Regions from separate parts of the Homo sapiens genome. Here all the other regions are linked to region 3. The links are contacts of gene promoters, found by promoter capture Hi-C in blood cells and fetal thymus (Javierre and others, 2016). All regions are on one chromosome and are shown on one strand. Each heading gives the region's core, a stretch centred on a gene start or on the middle of the fragment in contact. The rest is flanking DNA. Distances are from core to core; before and after follow the strand shown.

Evidence for each region. The method cuts DNA at HindIII sites, captures the fragments that hold promoters and counts their contacts. A CHiCAGO score of 5 or more calls a contact.
Region 1: a fragment that was not itself captured here is called in contact with the fragment with the promoter of IDI2-AS1 in region 3 in 1 of 17 cell types (monocytes); the score reaches 5.5 in monocytes.
Region 2: a fragment that was not itself captured here is called in contact with the fragment with the promoter of IDI2-AS1 in region 3 in 1 of 17 cell types (monocytes); the score reaches 6.9 in monocytes.

Annotation. Positions count from the first base shown.
Region 1 is chr10:857,549-860,248 of GRCh38, reverse strand. The region is part of intron 5 of LARP4B (La ribonucleoprotein 4B); the gene reads left to right. Among named protein-coding and RNA genes, the nearest start is that of LARP4B, 73 kb to the left of the region's middle. The HindIII fragment of the contact is 1,648 bases long and covers 513-2,160 here.
Region 2 is chr10:841,519-844,218 of GRCh38, reverse strand. LARP4B (La ribonucleoprotein 4B) reads left to right here. Exons shown (of 18, transcript NM_015155.3): 7 at 1,151-1,287. Among named protein-coding and RNA genes, the nearest start is that of LARP4B, 89 kb to the left of the region's middle. The HindIII fragment of the contact is 4,915 bases long and covers 1-2,700 here.
Region 3 is chr10:1,021,263-1,023,962 of GRCh38, reverse strand. IDI2-AS1 (IDI2 antisense RNA 1) reads right to left here and starts at 1,326. Exons shown (of 5, transcript NR_027709.1): 1 at 1,180-1,326. It overlaps IDI2 (isopentenyl-diphosphate delta isomerase 2), which reads left to right. Exons shown (of 5, transcript NM_033261.3): 3 at 1,188-1,280. The HindIII fragment of the contact is 10,709 bases long and covers 1-2,700 here.

The DNA of each region.
Region 1 (2,700 bases), core at 87-2,586, 160 kb after region 3:
AAGGACTAATGCTATCAAACATCCTTTTTAAAAAAAAGACTGTTTTTTTTAGAGCACTTTCAGGTTCACAGCGAGTTTTAGTGGAAGGTATAGAGATCTCCCATATACTCCCCTCCCCCCCACCCCCACACATGCATGGCCTTCTTCACTATTCACACTCCCTCACCAGAGGGTGCCTTTGTATAATTGATGATCCTATATTGGCACATCATTATTACCTGGAGTCTACAGTTTACATGAGGGCTCACTCTTGGTGTTGTACGTTCTGTGGGTTTGGAGAAATGTATAATGACATGTACCCTCCATTGTAGCATCAGAGAGAGTAGTTTCCCTGCCCTAAAAGTCATCTGTGTTCTGCCTACTCACCCCTCCCTCCCCCCAACCCCTAGCATCCATTGGTTTTTTCACTGTCTCCATAGTTTTACCTTTTCCAGAATGTCATAGGGTTGGAATCCTGCAGGATGTAGCCTTCTTAGATAGGTTTCTTTCATTTAGTAACGTACATTTAAGCTTCCTCCATGTCTTCAAGGCTTGATAACTCATTTCTTTTTAGCACTGAATAACATTCCATTGTCTGGACATACTACAAATTACTTAGTCATTCACCTACTGAAGGACATCTTGGTTGTTTCCAGGTTTTGGCAATTACAAATAAAGATGCTGTTAGCATTCATGTGCAGGTTTTTGTACGGAAGGAAGTTTTTAACTCCTTTGGGTAAATACCCAGGAGTGTGATTGCTGGATCATAAGGTCAGAGTATGTTTAGTTCTGTAGAAAGCTGCTGAACTGCCTTCCAGAAGTAGAATTTCTGGATCATATGGTAATTCTTATGTTTAACTTTTTTTGGTGGAATCACCATACAGTTTTCCATACAGGCCATAGTATTTTACATTCCCACCATCAGTGTACAAGGGTTCCAGTTTTATTAAATCCTTGCCAATACTTGTTATTTTCTGATTTTTTTTTTTTTTTGAAATGGAATAATTCTGTTGCCCAGGCTGGAGTGCACTGGAGCAATCTCAGCTCACTACAACGTCCACCTCCCGGGTTCAAGCAATTCTCCTGCCTCAGCCTCCCAAGTAGCCTAGATTACAGGTGTGAGCCACCACGCCCAGCTAAATTTTGTATTTTTAGTAGATACGGGGTTTCACCATGTTGGCCAGTCTGGTCTCAAACTCCTGACCTCTGCCCATCTCAGCCTCCCAAAGTGCTGGGATTACAGGCGTGAGCCACCACACCCAGCTAACTTTTGTATTTTTTGTAGAGACAGGGTTCAACCATGTTGTCCAGGCTGGGTTCGAACTCCTGACCTCAGGTGATCTGTCTGCCTCGGCCTGCCAAAGTGCTGTGATTACAGGCATGAGCCACTGCGCCCAGCCTATTTTCTGATTTTTTTGATAGTAGTCATTCTAGTGGGTATATCTTTGTAGTTTTGGCTTGCATTTCCCTAATGGTTAGTGATGCCAAGCACCCTTTTTGTTCTTATTGGCCATTTGTCTTCTTTGGATAAATGTCTATTCAAATCCTTTGCCTATTTTTGAATCAGGTTTTTGTTAATGTCTTTAGGAGTTCTCAATATATTCTGTGTATTAATCCCTGATCAGATACATCAATCACAATTATTTTCTTCCATTATATGGGTTGCCTTTTTATTTTATTCAAAGTGTCTTTTGATGTACAAAATTTAAAATGTTCATAATGTTCAGTTTGTTTATTTTTTGTTGGGCTGCCTATGCCTTTGGTGTCATATCTAAGATAACATTGTTGAATTTATTATAATGAAGGTTTTGTCTGTGTTTTCGTCTGAGTTTTATCATTTCGGGTCTTACATTTAGATCTTTGATCATTTTGAGTTAATTTTTGTATATGGTATAAAGTATGGATCCAACTTTGTTTTTGCATGTGGATATCCAGTTGTCCTTGCACTATTTATTGAAAAGACTGCCCTTTCTCTATAGAACGATCGTGGCACGCCTGTTAAAAAAAACAATTGGCCATGTATGCAAGGATTTCTTTCTCGGCCCTCTCTTCTGTTGCATTGGGCTGTGTGTCTAATAGGCCACCGCAGGGAAAGCCTGGAATTTTAACTGTGGGCCTACAAGAATATAGAGGAGCCCTCATTGTTAACCAACAGGGGGATCCAAAGTAGGAGTTTAAGCTTAAAAAATTTTTAATTTTGTTTCAGGTCAGATTTTTGCTCTTTAATTTTAAAGAGAATTTTTAAGGCTAACCATAGCATTGTTGGGTCTTTCTAGAAATTGGCTTGCATTTCCTAGTGGTTAGTGATGCCAAGCACCCTTTTTGCTCTTGATGTTTTTATCAGTTGTTTAGGATGAGATTTCTAAAATCCTTTTTTAAATTTACAATTCTAATTTAAAGGATCCATCTTTTGGCCATTGACATTTAGAATTTTCAGTGGTGTATAAAGTCCAGGATAGATCCTGGAGAGGACATAGAAGAAGCAATTCCAAAGATACCTCCCACAAAACATTTACTGTCAGGAATGAGCTCAATCAGCAAAGACTCTTGTTGACACAGACTAACCAGGCAGCAGGAGTTGAGATGACAAAAGCCCCTTACACGTGGGACCTCTTATTAAGACAAACTCCCGAGCGCTTGACGTATGCAGAACAAAAAGTCTTGGGTTCCTGTCTTCAGACCGGCCACCCGACCTGATCCGAAAATCGTACCTCCCCCAAT
Region 2 (2,700 bases), core at 93-2,592, 180 kb after region 3:
CTCTGCCACTCACATCCATGTGTAGCCCCATGGGGCCAGAATCAGCTACACCTGGAAGATGGCCGAGATGAGGGTGGAGCAGGGCCTCCTCCTGCATGGCCTCCGTTTGATCGGCAGTCATGGGCCTTCACCGAGGGACACTGAGCAGAGGCCCCAGGAACCCAGCACTGTGCTCAGTTTTGAAATGTTTCTTAGGGCCTTGTTCACTACATTACATGATGCCTTGAGAATTCACAGGAAACATTGATCTTTGGCCAAAACACCAGAAAATAGCTCATCATGGCCCAAACTGCTGATGATTTGTGGCTCACCTTTGGATTTTGTGGGTAAAGTTACTGTTTCCTTCTTTTTAATTCTGGCTGCTAGGAAGCCAGGGCTGGATATAGGCCCTCTGGTGAGTGTTCCAGAGTCTACAGGAGGAATTTTGGGTATGACCTTATCCTGGCCTTTTTATGTTTTCCTTTCTTGTTCATTGAGCTGGATTTCTTTACTTTAAATTGTTTTTCTTTCTTTTTTTTTGAGTCAGAGTTTCACTCTTGTCGCCCAGGCTAGAGTGCAGTGGTGTGATCTTGGCTCACTGTAACCTCCACCTCTCGGGTTCAAGCGATTCTCCTGCCTGAGCCTCCCGAGTAGCTGGGATTACAGGTGCCCGCCACCATGCCTGGCTAATTTTTGTATTTTTAGTAGAGATGGGGTTTCACCATGTTGGTCAGGCTGGTCTTAAACTCCTGAACCCAGATGATCTGCCTACCTTGGCCCCCCAAAGTGCTGGGATTCCAGGCGTGAGCCACCGTGCCCGGCCTAACAAAATTGTATGCATTTTTAATAAACTCTTAAGCTACTTCTTAGGACAAAAATGACAGCTATAAATAATTACATCTTATTTAAAAATAACCATCTTCTCATAAATTTTGATTGTAGAAAGTACAGTATACTTTTACTTTTGCACTCCCTGCCTCTCCAAGGCCGAGATTTTGCAAAAATGTACCTGAGGCTGGAGAGACAGCAAATAACAGATGGGTCCTGGGCTGAGATTTAACTCCAAAGCAATACCATGCCACACTCACGCCTCTTGTGAAACTGGAATTACAGTAGGTGAAACTTCCTTTTAAAGAAATACTGATTAAAAGAGATTGTTTTCTTTCAACAGGGAGAACCTTGCTAGTGACATGTATCTTATATCACAGATGGATAGTGACCAGTATGTGCCAATCACAACGGTGGCTAACCTCGACCACATCAAGAAGCTCAGCACTGATGTGGACTTGATTGTGGAAGTGCTAAGATGTAAGTAAATGACAATTTAAATTAATAATACTTGTCCTTAGAGTATTTGTCTTATCAGCATGAACCTTTAAATCTATAGCCATCAAACGTTAAGGTCCTTGATGGCGAATCAGATTCTTTTCTGGCCTTCCGTTCCTTTCTGCCCAGGTCCAATAATTCTGGAGTAGCGCCTGATAGTCCCTGGGAATGCCAGTTGAACCCGTTATGAAACCTCAAACAAGTTTTGGGACATATGAAGTAGAAAAGAATCTTGTTAATGGGGATTTTAAAGATAGCTGTTTCATTCATGAAAAACAAAATAAAAATAACATTTATAGTTAAAGTAAAATACACTTTAGTTACAGTTTTACCACTAGAGGTTTTTCTTTCAAATTGCAACTTCCTGTTTATGTTCGGATGAAATAATTATTGCAATTTTTCTTAAAATTATGTTGTGGGCCAGGTGTGGTGGCTTACGCGTGTAATCCCAGCACTTTTGGAGGTCGAGTTGGGCGGATCATGAGGTCAGGAGATTGAGACTGTCTTGGCCAACATGGTGAAACCCTGTCTCCACTAAAATACAAAAAATTAGCTGGGCGTGGTGGTGTGTGCTTGTAATCCCAGGTACTTGAGAGGCTGAGGCAGGGAAATCACTTGAACCCAGGAGGCGGAGGTTGCAGTTAGCTGAGATTGTGCCATTGCACTCCAGCCTGGCGACAGAGATAGACTCCATCTCATAAAAAAAAAAAAAAATTATGTTGTGAGTGAAGTTGTTTCTTTGAAGTTTGGCAACATCAAACAGTGTTTAAGCATTAAGTGTGGATGGTGCCCCTACATAGTTTTGAGTGATTGGACATTGCTAAGCCTGACTTCAAGTCTCAATTAAGTCCACTGCCTATACTCACATAGAAGGGTTTTCACGTTGTCCCTGGCTTATCTGTACTGACGACAGTCTGTGCAGGTTTTTTTTTTTTCTTGTATGAATTTGACTTTACAGTAGTATAAAAAAGTGAGCATCTTACATGAGAACTTAGTTGGATTTTCTTTTCACAAATAAAATATAAAATAAAAGTTTTATGTTTTTCTGTTTTTAGACAAATAGCATGGGTTATTAAATTATTGGAGACAGTGAAAAAACTGACAAACATAATTACCATTGACTGTGAGTTCTGAGAGCGGCACTGCTGTCTCCCAGGATGGCGCCGTGCTCCCTGGTGTCATCATGCAGAACAGAAGCTGTTGTCTGTGCCAGCTGAATTGGGCCCCATCTTTGAAAGGCCAGCAGCATTCTTGTCCCTGTTTGTACTCTGAAGTCTTTTTGGTTATGATTAGGAGTTTCAGGTTTAGTTATTCCTTTTCGGACAGACCTTGCAAACGCTGCTGCCCCACTGGGATGATTTCTCAGTTGATTGTTACTGGCAAGGGGTCGTTTCC
Region 3 (2,700 bases), core at 77-2,576:
TATAAACACATAATAATTATGCATATTAATGGGGTACATGTGATAGTTTGATACCACCATGTCATGCATAATGATCAAATAGGGCATTTTGGGATATCCATCACCTCAAACATTCATCATATCTTTGTGTTGGGAACATTCCAAATCCTCTGTTCTAGCCACATTGAAACATATAATACACTGTTGTTAACTACAGTCACCCTACTGTGCTATTGAACAGCTGATATTATTCCTTCTCTATCGCGGTATGTTTATACTTATTAACCACCCTCTCGTCATCCCTCCCCACTGCCCTTCGCAGCCTCTGGTGTCTAGCATTGTGTTTTCTGCCTCCATGAGATCAACTTCTTTAGAGCCCACATAGCAGTGAGAACATGTGATACTTGTTTTTCTGTGCCAGGTTTGTTCCACTTAACACAATGGCCTCCAGTTCCATCCATGTTGCTACAAATGACAGGATTTCATTCTTCTTTTTTTTTTTTTTTTTGAGACAGAGTCTTGCTCCATTGCCCAGGCTGGAGTGCAGTGGTGCAATCTCAGGTCACTGCCAGCTCTGCCTCCTGGGTTCATGCCATTCTCCTGCCTCAGCCTCCCGAGTAGCTTGGACTACAGGCACCTGCCACCACGCCCAGCTAATTTTTTTGTATTTTTAGTAGAGACGGGGTTTCACCATGTTAGCCAGGGTGGTCTCGATCTTCTGACCTCGTGATCCGCCCACTTCAGCCTCCCAAAGTGCTGAGATTACAGGCGTGAGCCACCGCACCCGGCCCGATTTCATTCTTCTTTTGTGGTGGAATGGTATGCCACTGTGTATCTAACCCTCATGTTTTCAACCCTTCAAACCTCCACGGACACAGGTTGATCTCATATCTTGGCTGTCGTAAATGGTGCTCAGCACCCAGGAATGCTGCGATATCTCTCTGATAGACTGATCTCTTTTATTTTGGATATTTGCCCTGGTAGTGGGATTTCTGGGTCATCTGGTAGATCTATTTTTAGTTTCCCGAGTGTTCTAATCCGCTGAGATTCTGAAACGTTGTGTTTGGGCATCCAGCAGTCCCCTTTGCCCTGCCCAGGTGCCACAATCACAGGCTTTTCTACGAGAAACAGACTGAGGACAAAAAGCACGAAGGACAATCGTACAGACTCCAGGCATGCACTCACACAAATGGCACTTACCTTTGCAGGGCTGCTGCACCGAGCCTTCAGCGTTGTCTTGTTTAACACCAAGAATCGAATCCTGATACAGCAGAGGTCGGACACGAAAGTCACGTTTCCTGGTGAGTCCGTTCAACCAAGCCCCGGACTGAAGAGAGCATCTCATGTGACTTGACCGGAGGAATCTGGGACAGGAACTCTCTGGTGCTCAGTGCCGCACTGTGGTGAGCTGGCAGCTCATCCTGCAGAAAATCGGCAGCTTAGGCAGATGCTAATTATGCTGATAGCTCTTCAGTAGGCTGGGTTTTCTTTTTTAAAAAAGTAAGAAACTATATGAGTTTCTGGGTTTTTTTGTTTTGTTGTTTCTTTGCAACGGCAAGTTACTTAAATGCAGAGGAATTTATCAACCTAAGGATTTAGGGGATTAAAATAGCATTTAGCATAAAATTAACTAGGTAATAATAATAAAAATTATCTTACAGGTCTTAGAGTTTTAATTATCTTGTACTTCTTAAAATTACAACTTAAAATTTTTTTTTTTTTTTGGAGATGGAGTCTGGCTCAGTCACCCAGGCTGGAGTGCAGTGGCGCCATCTCGGCTCACTGCAAGCCCCGCCTCCTGGGTTCACGCCATTGTCCTGCCTCAGCCTCCCAAGTAGCTGGGACTACAGGCGCCCGCCACCACACCCGGGTAACGTTTTGTATTTTTAGTAGAGACGGGGTTTCACCGTGTTAGCCAGGATGGTCTCGATCTCCTGACCTCGTGATATGCCTGTCTTGGCCTTCCAAAGTGCTGGGATTATAGGCGTGAGCCACCGGGCCCGGCCAAAAAATTTTTTAGAGGGGAACAGCATTTACGTCAATTGTGGTCATTTAAAGTGTTTTGGCCTAGGCTGTCCTCAAATTTTCAAAACCAGACCTTGCCTGAGCCATTAAAGCGAATGGCTAAGCACGGCCAGCTGTGGCCGAGGTTTTCTCCTCCCTTAGTTCTTCCTCGGAGCCGCAGTGGGTACATCCTGCCCATTCCCAAACCCACCACCATACTTGCTGGTCAAGTTGTACTCACGGGCTCCTTGATGGAGCTGAATGCAAAGTTTGTTTCAGAAAAATTCAGGAGCTGCAAAGTTAAGAGGGTCAACTGTAGTACATAGTCAACAGTTTGCAAATAAAGCCCCTGGAGCTAAGATTTCCTATCATGTGTTAGCCGCCTCCAGGATACATAGGGGCAGGTGGGAGTACCAGCTCTTGTACTTGCAAGAGTGGATTCAACTTCAGCCAAACTCCTTGCAGAGTGACCGAAGGAAGCACTGAGGGTCTGAGGAACGAGAGGGAACAGAGATTTACTGAGGAGAGTGTGACCTCCCGTCATAGCGCTATTGCTGTTACTTGGGTAAATTAAGTAGAACCTCTCAGTAAGGAAACTTGGTCAAAGGTATTCCAGCAGTCTTCCTGTGAAACCATGCTCACTGATCACCACCCTCAAAGTGCAGCCCAGCTTCCTCAGCCCAGCTGGTGCAGCCACCCAGCCCACAGCCCCACCAC